Regions from separate parts of the Homo sapiens genome. Here regions 2 and 3 are each linked to region 1. Evidence: promoter capture Hi-C in 16 types of primary human blood cells and fetal thymus (Javierre and others, 2016). All regions are on one chromosome and are shown on one strand. Each heading gives the region's core, a stretch centred on a gene start or on the middle of the fragment in contact. The rest is flanking DNA. Distances are from core to core; before and after follow the strand shown.

What was found. Contacts are between HindIII fragments. The CHiCAGO score rates a contact against its expected background, and 5 or more counts as called.
Region 2: a fragment that was not itself captured here is called in contact with the fragment with the promoter of MIEN1 in region 1 in 4 of 17 cell types (activated CD4 T cells, naive CD4 T cells, total CD8 T cells and 1 more); the score reaches 6.1 in activated CD4 T cells.
Region 3: a contact is called between the fragment with the promoter of PSMD3 here and the fragment with the promoter of MIEN1 in region 1, in 5 of 17 cell types (activated CD4 T cells, fetal thymus, naive B cells and 2 more). The highest score is 7.3, in activated CD4 T cells.

What each region holds. Positions count from the first base shown.
Region 1 is chr17:39,728,571-39,732,063 of GRCh38, forward strand. MIEN1 (migration and invasion enhancer 1) reads right to left here and starts at 1,962. Exons shown (of 4, transcript NM_032339.5): 1 at 1,837-1,962; 2 at 1,624-1,721; 3 at 1,115-1,191; 4 at 1-1,035. The coding sequence starts at 1,925. The coding sequence ends at 952. ERBB2 (erb-b2 receptor tyrosine kinase 2) reads left to right here. Exons shown (of 27, transcript NM_004448.4): 27 at 1-88. RefSeq lists a silencer at 1,644-2,203. The HindIII fragment of the contact is 2,975 bases long and covers 194-3,168 here.
Region 2 is chr17:39,859,170-39,862,440 of GRCh38, forward strand. The region is part of intron 1 of IKZF3 (IKAROS family zinc finger 3); the gene reads right to left. Among named protein-coding and RNA genes, the nearest start is that of IKZF3, 3.5 kb to the right of the region's middle. RefSeq lists an enhancer at 2,247-2,406. The HindIII fragment of the contact is 246 bases long and covers 1,768-2,013 here.
Region 3 is chr17:39,978,980-39,982,517 of GRCh38, forward strand. It overlaps PSMD3 (proteasome 26S subunit, non-ATPase 3), which reads left to right and starts at 1,828. Exons shown (of 12, transcript NM_002809.4): 1 at 1,828-2,211. The coding sequence starts at 1,992. RefSeq lists enhancers at 1-837, 1,259-1,438, 1,659-1,938, 1,739-2,716 and a silencer at 2,119-2,168. The HindIII fragment of the contact is 5,666 bases long and covers 171-3,538 here.

The DNA.
Region 1 (3,493 bases), core at 712-3,211:
GGGAGAATGGGTGTTGTATGGGGAGGCAAGTGTGGGGGGTCCTTCTCCACACCCACTTTGTCCATTTGCAAATATATTTTGGAAAACAGCTAGGCACCGGCCTATGTCTGGGGGTGGCTCTGTGCCATCCCTTCCTGCTCACCTTACACTCAATTCCTCTTTTCCTGGAGGGAGTGGCTGGGAATCTTCAGAAAGCTTGGATGAGGAGCCAGACATCCAGTTCTCCAGCTTCAGGGTTGGGGGAGATCGGGAAGCTGGATTCAGATCTGAGAGCCCTTTGACGACCAGATCATTCTTATTTAGAACGAACTAATTCCTAAGGCCACTCACCAGAATGGGGTTATTTCCTCCTTGTGAGTGAGGAGAGTGGTGGGTAGGGTGGGGGAAAGACGAGGCAGGGTCTACTGTGGGACTCATTTTCCTTGCCTTGGCTATGCCAGAGGAGCTCACTGACCTAAGGAGTAGCTGTCCAGAAAGCCCACCCAGCCAGCACAGCCACCCTGGCGGTGCAAAGGCTGGGCTGACCGGACTTCTGTGCCCCCCACATTCCCAGACTGGACGTATAAAAACACACACTAGTTAGCATTAGTGTTTGTAGCGCCACTTTACTGCCAATAGCTGACATTGCCCTGGGTTAGGGGAGAATAAATAAAATCTGTGGCATCAGACAGGTATTACCGAGGCGAAGAGTGGACTGGGCTTTCGTGGGCACTTACCCTGGGAAGGGGGTATGAGGTGGCTGGAGAAGTGTTCATGGAGAGTGTCTCTCTCCTGCCCCCAAGGCCACGGAATCTTCTATTCCTTCTTTGTACCCAAAGGGCAAAGTGGAGGCCAGGGTCTCTTTGCTAAGGAGCTAAGTAGGGGAAAGAGGCAGGGGGAGCTCCCAGCAGGACCAAAGGGAGACCAAGGTTTGGACCCCAGAACAGAGCAGGAACCCAGAGTCCTGTGCAGTCACAGGATGACGCAGGGAGGACGGCTGTTGGTGATCTTTTCTAGGGTTTCTCCATTACTGGCTCTTCGGATGGCCTCAATGAGCTAGAGGAGTGGAATGACAGGATGATGCACTGTTGGGGTAGGGTGACCAAGAGGTCCTCCCAACGCTGTAAATACTCACATCTTTCTCATAGGGAAAGCCCCCATTCTCCAGCTTGGAGAACACCAGCTGTCCATTTATCTCTATCTCAAAGGCACCTGGTAAGAAATCAACAGATAAATGGTACACTGAGAACATAGGCAGAAGTCAGGAGTTCCTCCAAAGGGGTCCCCCGCCTTCAAGTCCCCCATCAATCCCACTGGAGACCCATTTGTAGCTCCTTAAGCAATTCCCCAACCCTGGGTCAACTCCAGGGAACCTGAGGGAGGCCTCGCCTGTGTGCCCCTCGCAACACTCAATAAAGGACTCCCTCCCCTCCAACCCTACACGATTGCAGTCTAATAGGTTTTTCCCCACAGGCCTCTGTGACACCCCCTGACCTATGGAAGGGAACTCATGTTGGCCGGACATTTTACCATGTGCCAGGCACTGCGGGCACTTTACATAAAGCAGCCAATGTCAGAACTAGAAAGCGGGAGAGCTGGGATTCAGAGCACAGACTGACCCAGCAGGTGTTCTGCGAGCCTCACCTGTGCCCCCGAGGCGCGACTCGATCTCGATGCCCGGATACTGCTCCTTCACAGCACTGGCCAGCTCCAGGTAGGTCGCCTCGAAGCCGCAGGGTTCACTGGGGAGTCAAGAGATGGGGCTGGGCTGGGGATTCGGGGGTGGGGCCTCCCGTGGACCCACCTCCGTCCGGCCCGCGGGACCAGGGTGCGGGTCCTCCAGCCGGGGCCGCTCACCAGTACTCCACCACGATGCGGACCCCACTGCCCGGCTCGACCTCCTCGGGAGGGGGCGCTACGGACGTCTGCCCCGGCTCCCCGCTCATCGCGGCCGGCTCCGCTCGGGCCCCTGCTTCCGGGTGTGACGCGAACCGCGGGCACGTGACGGGGCGGGGCCTCTGGAGCGGGGAGGGGCCGAGGGTGGCGTTCGGGCGCCCCCTGCGGGTCTCCGCCACTGCTACGTTTTGACCTCGTAGGGCAGCTCCGGAGCTCGCTCCCCGGGCAGGGGCTGGGTCCGGTCCAGACCCTCCTTCCCTGGCCCGGTCTCCCGGAGTGCCGGGCTTCCCCACTCCCCACTCCCGGTGTCCGCTGGACTTCATGGCTTCATTTACTCTAATGGACTATCTTAGACTGCAAAGCGCTTTTCAGTTTACAAAAGAAAGAGAAAGTGGTGGGGCAAGCATCCTGGGGATGGGGGTGGGTGTGGCTGATGCATGAAATAGTTGACATTTTCTCGCTAACATGCCGATGGCATTTTTTTTTTTTTTTTTTTTGAGACGGAGTTTCGCTCTTGTTGCCCAGGCTGGAGTGCAATGGCGCGATCTCGGTTCACTGCAACCTCTGCCTCCCGGGTTCAAGCGATTCTTCTGCCTCAGCTTCCCGAGTAGCTGGGACTACAGGCGCGTGCCACCGCACCCGGTTAATTTTGTATTCTTAGTAGAGACAGGGTTTCATCATGTTGGTCAGGCTGGTCTCGAACTCTTGACCTCAGGTGATCCACCAGCCTCGGCCTCCTAAAGTGCTGGAATTACAGACATGAGCCACCGCGCCTGGCCCAGTTTTTTGTTTGTTTGTTTGTTTGTTTTAGTAGAGACAGGGTTTCACCATGTTCGCCAGACTGGTCTCGAACTCCTGACCTCAAATGATCTGCCTGCCTTGGCCTCCCAAAGTGCTGGGATTACAGGCGTGAGCCACCACGCCCGGTGCTGATGGCATTTGGAACCACCCTGTAGTTACATACACAAGTGTTTCTGATCCCAAAGCTCTAAACTGCTTTTTCCAGTCTTTTGCAGCTGCTTCTTGCCTGCACTGGAAAACAGTAGATGCTCTTCAGGCTCTGTGCCCCCAACAGTTTCTGCGCATCCCTTCTCATCCAGCCTCTCACTGGGGGGCTGGCGTCATTATTCCCATTTTGCAGCTCTGGAAATGGAGTCTGCACAAGTCCTCGCTGCCTTTTCCCTGCCTACAGTACCACTATGGTATCCTAACACGCCACCCACTCTAGTGTCCCTTTAGGCTATTTATTTATTTATTTATTTATTTTGAGATGGAGTCTCACTCTGTCACCCAAGCTTGAGTGCAGTGGCGCGATCTTGGCTCACTGCAACCTCCACCTCCTGGGTTCAGGCGATTCTCCTGCCTCAGTCTCCCTAGTAGCTGAGATCATAGGTGCCAGCCACCACGCCCAGCTAACTTTTGTATTACTATTATTATTATTTTTTTGAGACAGAGTCTTGCTCTGTTGGCCAGGCTGGAGTGCAATGGTGCGATCTCGGCTTACTGCAACCTCTGCCTTCCGGCCTCAAGTGAGTCTCCTGTCTCAGCCTCCTGAGCAGCTGGGATTACAGGTGCCCACCACCAAGCCAGCTAATTTTTCTATTTTTAGTACAGATGG
Region 2 (3,271 bases), core at 641-3,140, 130 kb after region 1:
CAGATTTCAATTAGACTGAAAAAATAACCTCATTCAGAATCACTAGGGATAAAAGTATTTTGATGAGTTATATAGTAATATTAATTAATAAAGTTATACACAGATTACTTTTCAAACAATCTATATATATTATAAATAAATTATAATTATTGTTTCATTATTGCATCTTTTTTTTAGTGATCCAAAAGGCCTTGGTGTCATCCTTATGATTTTTTTTTTTTTTGAGACAGGGTCTTGCTCTGTTGCCCAGGCTGTGGCATGCTCATGTCAGTGCAGTGGCATGCTCATGGCTCACGGTAGCCTCGACCTCCCAGGCTCAAGCCATCTTCCTACCTCAGCCTTCCAAGTAGCTGTTACTACAGGCATGTGCTACCACACCTGGCTAATTTTTGTAGTTTTTGTAGAGTCAGGGTTTTACCATGTTGCCCAGGCTGGTCTTGAAGTCCCAGGCTCAAGCAATCTGCCCGCCTCAGCCTCCCAAAGTGCTAGGATTACAGGCGTGAGCCACCACTCCTGGCCTCATCCTTATAATTTCTAATTATCATAAATATACCAGTTAATATGGAGCTAAATTTAATAAAGGCTAAATAGCAGAGTACATTCTATGGCCTTGTGATGTGTAGGGTCTCTTTTCAAAATAATTAATGAATCCTTAGGACAAAAGACATTTATTGAGCACCTACTATAGGCAAGTTTCTGTGTTAATCACTCAGTTCTTCTCATACATGGTCTGGAACTATAGCTTGACATATGAGCCAATTATCATTGGACATCTATCTAGGCCAGGTGCAGTGGCTCACTCCTGTAATCCCAGCACTTGGGAAGGTTGAGGCGGAAGGATCACTTGTGGCCAAGAATTCAAGACCAACCTGACCAACATAGTGAGACCCCCATTTCTACAAAAAATGAAAGATAATAAATCAGCAGGTCATGGCGGTTTGTACAATAAATTACCAGGTTATGGTGGTGGATGCCTGTAGTCCTAGCTACTCAGAAGGTTGAGGCAGGAGGATCGTCTGAGCCTAGGAGTTTGTGGTAGCCTGGGCAACAGAGCAAGGACTATCTCTTTAAAAATAATAATAAAAAAAAAAAACTGGATGTCTGATAAAAGATCTACCAATAATCAATAATCTTTTAGTCCTAAATAAGTGTAAGTATATACATTTATATATGAATGAAAAGTTTATAACAATGTATTTTTAAAGTATCACTTGAAAGCGTATGCTATTTTTATGGCATCATCTATATCTTACTGACTGAGAAAACAAATTTCTGCTCATATTCAATGGATATTTTAATGGACTAATTGCGATCCTGAAATCTGCTTATGTAAATTTAACAGTTAAAATTTGGCTTTACACAAAAAAGAATGAAATCATATCCTTTGCAACAACATGGATGCAGCTGGAGGCCATTATTCTTAGTGAATTAACACAGAAACAGAAAACCAAATACCGCATGTTCTCACTTATGACGGGGAGCTAAACACTGGGTACACATGGACTGTTATGAATTAATGTGACCCCCAAATTAGACACTGATGACCCCAAAATGGGGAAGGGTGGGAGGAGGGCAAGGGTTGAAAAACTACCTATAGGACACTATGCTCATTATTTGGGTGACAGGATCAATAGAAGCCCAATCCTCAGCATCACATAATATACTTATGTAAGAAACCTGCACATGTACCCCCTAAATCTAATTTTGTTAAAATTGGCTTTAAGTGACAGTCTAGCAAAAAATATCCAATAACATTTTTGTTTTCCAAGCTTTCTTTTTCAATTATACAGTTTAAGTGCTTAAAAAATTACTGAGCTTTATCAAAGAATTACTAGCCCCAATCTCCTACTTTAAAAATTTATTTAAATAAAATGCATCACAATAAACATAATAAAAAGTACTTTTTCAGCACTATTTTAATTGAATGCAACAAATTCTGAGGGCCTTCTATGAACCAGAAACTGTCCTTCGCATTCAGTGTACAAAAACAAGACACAGTCTCTGTTCTCCAGAAGCTTAAAGACCAGAGGGGGAATAAACACCTACATCAATAAATAATTTCAACACAATGTGGTAGAAGTATACACAGAAAGGAGAGGCCCTTAGCTGAGGTGAAGGAACATGAGAGACTGGGTAGGGGTGATCACCAGAAGGCACTAGGAGGAGGTCATCAGAAGAAGGTCATCAGAGAGCCTTCATGGCGATGATGCCTGAGCAGAGTCTTGAAAGATGAGTAGGCATAAGCAAGTAGAGAATGGGTGAACATAATAGCAAAGACATGGAAGCATGAAATAGCATACTGGATTAAAGGAAGTACAAACAGGAATTTTGAAAAATTATGTTCTACCAGGACGCCACGGCCTTTCTGTGGCTTTTGTTTCTTAAAACCTTCGCATTTCATCCTCCATACGCTCACAATGGAGGGCAAACAGATTCCATCATCTACAGGCTTTATCTCTGTTAATCTCAGCCATCCAGAACATGGAAAGGGACCTGAAACAAAACCCTACTACCACAAAATCTATGTGGTAAGAAATATAAGCTGACATCAAGAAGGAGACAAAAATTGTACAATATCCTAGGTATGTTTGGTGTAGGGGCATTCAGCTCAAAACCCCTGTGAGAATATATTATGGAATAATATATGATCTGATGGTGAGAACAGTAACTCAGAGTTGCCGAGATAAACTTATCTCTTATGTACCTTGCTTATAAAGCAGGGAGCTGTGTAATAAATATACTTAGAAAAATCTTTACTCAATATTGTTAAAAATAAAAATGTTTTACATTAAATAAGAAGTCTGCCATTACCTGTGAAATTCATGTTTGTGAACCACCTCATTTCCCGACCATAACAGACAGAAGAGATGTTATAGTACAAATAATAAAATTTAGTGATTCATAAACAGTCTTTGGGTAGAAAATATTTAAGGTCACAGATTGTGAGAAAATTAAAAAGTTATAGCTTCTGATTTTAGTATATTCATTAAATCTTCATTTCTACAAGATTTCTATTTCAAAAGCTTATTCATCTGACATCTTCATACATAGAAAGTCTCAATAAATTAATTAAAAGATAAATGAATTTGTTAAATGACTTTATATGCTGAAGGAATGATATACAGTATTGCATTGTACAATAAACTGTTATGAATCAATGTGACCCCCAAATTGGGCAGAAAATAAAGGTATTCCATGAAGTATTCTACTTTCTTACATTGCCAAGAGAGGTATACACTATAGACCAAATCTCTAATCTAGACTGAGATCA
Region 3 (3,538 bases), core at 578-3,077, 250 kb after region 1:
AGCCTGGCCAACAGAACGAGATTCCGTTTAAAAAAAAAAAAAAGTTTTATGAGTGGAAGAATTTCTCTAAGGATTTTGGTCCGTGGAGTCAGACTCTCCCCCAGTGTCTTAGTCACCCCCTGCCCAGCCTGGTTCCCTCATCCACCAAGAATTCATGACCAACTGCCAGAAGCTTTGTGTTATGCCGCCAGCCTCCCTGATCCTGAGCACCTTCCAAAGCCTCACTCTATTGCTCATGGATATACTGGGTTGTTATCTGCTGACTTGGTTGTTTTCTCCTTGTGATGTAAACTTAATAGAGAGATGAGCTAACACCCTAACTATCTAGAAGAGTAACTCCTTTGATTGTTAAGGATGAACATAACTCATCTGTTTTCTTCCTTACCATTCTCGCCCACCTTCAGTTGCAGATATGGTGTTATGAAGAGGTTCTAATGAGTTTATTCCAATGATGATTCAAAAGTCCTGTTATCCACCCCCCAGCCCTGGAGGGTGAGAGGACAGTTGAGGAGGAACTGGTCAAGGCATGTTCCCTAAAACTAGAGCACATATCTTTCCAGTTAGCGAGTGGCTGTTTAACGCAAGGAACATCCTGCAATCCTATGAAAGAGGATGCAAAAGATATGCAGGATACCCTTTATATATGCAAAGGAGGAGGTCAAAACATATTTCCTGCCTTCTAGGTCCTTACAACAGGGCTAGATTGTCTTGTAGGGTCCGTGAAAGGTCTAAAACTCAGGACTTCCACTTATGGGAGAGAGAAAAGTTTCAAGGTAGGGAGAGAGTTTTTGTTGTGTGTTCTAAGAAATTGGGAGCTATATCCTTCACCTTGTTTCACCTTCCCTGCAGAACCAGTGGGGCAGTCCTTTGAAAAATAAGTGGGTAGGGTTTCTTGTCCAATTTGCTTCCCCTTAGGTACACCACTAAGTAAACCATCATTCTCTCCTTAGGCACACCATTATTCTGTTCCCCATTTCACAATGTCTGTCTGGATGTATAAAAGCCCTCTCAATGGGCTCCCTAAAGCGTCTGCCAGTAGGGGCTCCCACCCTCTTTCCTCAACACTCCCAATCCACCGCAGCCCAGAGCACAGTGTCTGCTTATCTAACCATCTGACTCCCCCGTATACTACATTCTTGAGCTGTTTTTCACCCCCCTATTTGCTAACCGTGGGCCGTACATAGGGTGGACCCCTATATTTTGTTAAACTGGAGTGATTCTACGCAAATGCACGCTCCTACCTATCGGCACTCCCAGCCTGCAGAAATTGTATGCCTTATGTTCAGCACTAAACTCAAATCTAACCAAGGAAGTCCGGATCCCATAGGGTTCTTCCTACTCTCCAGTTCGGTTTATTTTAAGGCCAACAGCCCTAGCTTCACGTCCCTCCTTCACAGCCTTCTTTCCTTCCCTCCTGCCGGATGCGCCCGGCAGCCGTTGAGCACAAGCCCAGCGGATCTGGAAGGAGACCCCGCCGCGACCGGGGAAAATTGAGCGAACTTGGGCGCAAAACCCGCCCGGCAACTCGTGACGTCATCTCGTCCCGCGCTCGGATAGGCTGTACCCACTCCACGCTGGTTGAGGCGCTCTTAAAGTCCTTTGTAACCCAGATTGGAGCCTGAGGGGACCTCTCGTGGACGCCCACAGAAATGCACTCGAGAGGAACATAAAAGCATCACACTTAAGCGCTCGAAAGAAAGCCCCACGAACCCATAAAGGCTCCTCCCCGCTCCTTCCTCGAAGCTCCTCCTTCATCCTGCACCTCGGCTGTGGATTTATTTCCCCTTTGTTGACTCGGCCATCGGCCTGCCGGGCCTGGCGTTTCCCAGAAGGCCCAGCGCCGGGAAGGGGTTTGCAGCTGCTCCGTCATCGTGCGGCCCGACGCTATCTCGCGCTCGTGTGCAGGCCCGGCTCGGCTCCTGGTCCCCGGTGCGAGGGTTAACGCGAGGCCCCGGCCTCGGTCCCCGGACTAGGCCGTGACCCCGGGTGCCATGAAGCAGGAGGGCTCGGCGCGGCGCCGCGGCGCGGACAAGGCGAAACCGCCGCCCGGCGGAGGAGAACAAGAACCCCCACCGCCGCCGGCCCCCCAGGATGTGGAGATGAAAGAGGAGGCAGCGACGGGTGGCGGGTCGACGGGGGAGGCAGACGGCAAGACGGCGGCGGCAGCGGCTGAGCACTCCCAGCGAGAGCTGGACACAGTCACCTTGGAGGGTACGGCAGCCCAGGCCGGGAACGTGCCGCGATCGCGGGTGACAGCGACCCCTGTGATTTGGCTTCTTGCTGGGAAGCCACAGCAGCCTCCACCACCCTCAGTTCTTTGGGATCACCCCCAGATACCTGCTCCCACTGCCCCGACACTCCCGACTCCAGGCCCAATGACTGAACCTTCTCTCCAGGCTGGGAACCACTCCCCTCCCATCCCCTCCATCCCCATATCTGGGGTTGCATCTATATCTAGGTCCCAGTGGGCCTGGGGACTCCCTCTTTTAAGTCCTCCCCTCTGACCTATTCCGTTTATATCCCACCCGACTGATTTTAGCGCCTCCAATATATGACTGATTGTTCCCGCTGGAAACCAGTGTTTGTGTCTGTGTGTAAACAGGGCCAGGATGACCTAGAATATTGACTCCTGAGTTTTAAAACTGTACAGCAGATTTTTGTTGTCCTAGCTGCCTTTAGCACACTCCCCCGAATGAACCATTTCGACCTAGTATCTTGTTTCCTACTTCTCTAACTGAAGTGTCCCAACAGTCCCCTTGCTGTCTCCTCCCTTCAGGTCCTTACTGCCCCTCTGTTTCTAAAGGGTTTAAGTACATACACACTTAAAACTTTTCGGGTGTCATCTTTGTTTGGTTTTGTAATACTCAACCTTTGGCCTAAACTCCTATATACCGGTGTCTCCTATTTCTTTTCTCCGAGGTTCCTGTTTCGAGTGTCTGTAGTCCTCTTGTTCCTCCAAGTTCATGTTTTACTTTTCCCACTTACAGCGTCCTGTTTCCATTTGAAGTGGGCAAAGTGAGAGCTTCCCACTGTGATCCTGGTGCCATTTTCCTGGTTCTGGATCAAGTGGGACCAGACTACTTACTAGGTTTTCTTTTCACTAAAATGCGTGAGAAACTAGCTCAAAAACATTGAGATAAGCAAAGTTATCCTCCTAGGTGGTGCTTTTGAGGATGTGATGGTGTTGACTACATCAGCTCTTACTGTAAAGTTGAGCAACAGGATCGATATTTAATAGAGATCCTTTTACCTAAAGTAGTGGCAGCAATGTCAAAGGTGCCACTCAGCATTGCCTACTGGGTGTGTTTATTACAGGCACTTCATTTTCTTCTTGTAAAGTAATTCATATTCATTGCAGAAATTGTGGAATGTATGAGAAGTTAAAAGCAGGGGATAAAAAACATGGTTAACATTTTTTCTTGTGAATTTTTGAGCTGTTCTCCTATAATTGAGAGCAAGTTATGTATACAGTTTGTATCAAGGCATAACTAAATATAAATTTTGAATTTTATGTGTTTTCATTAACATTCGTAAACAT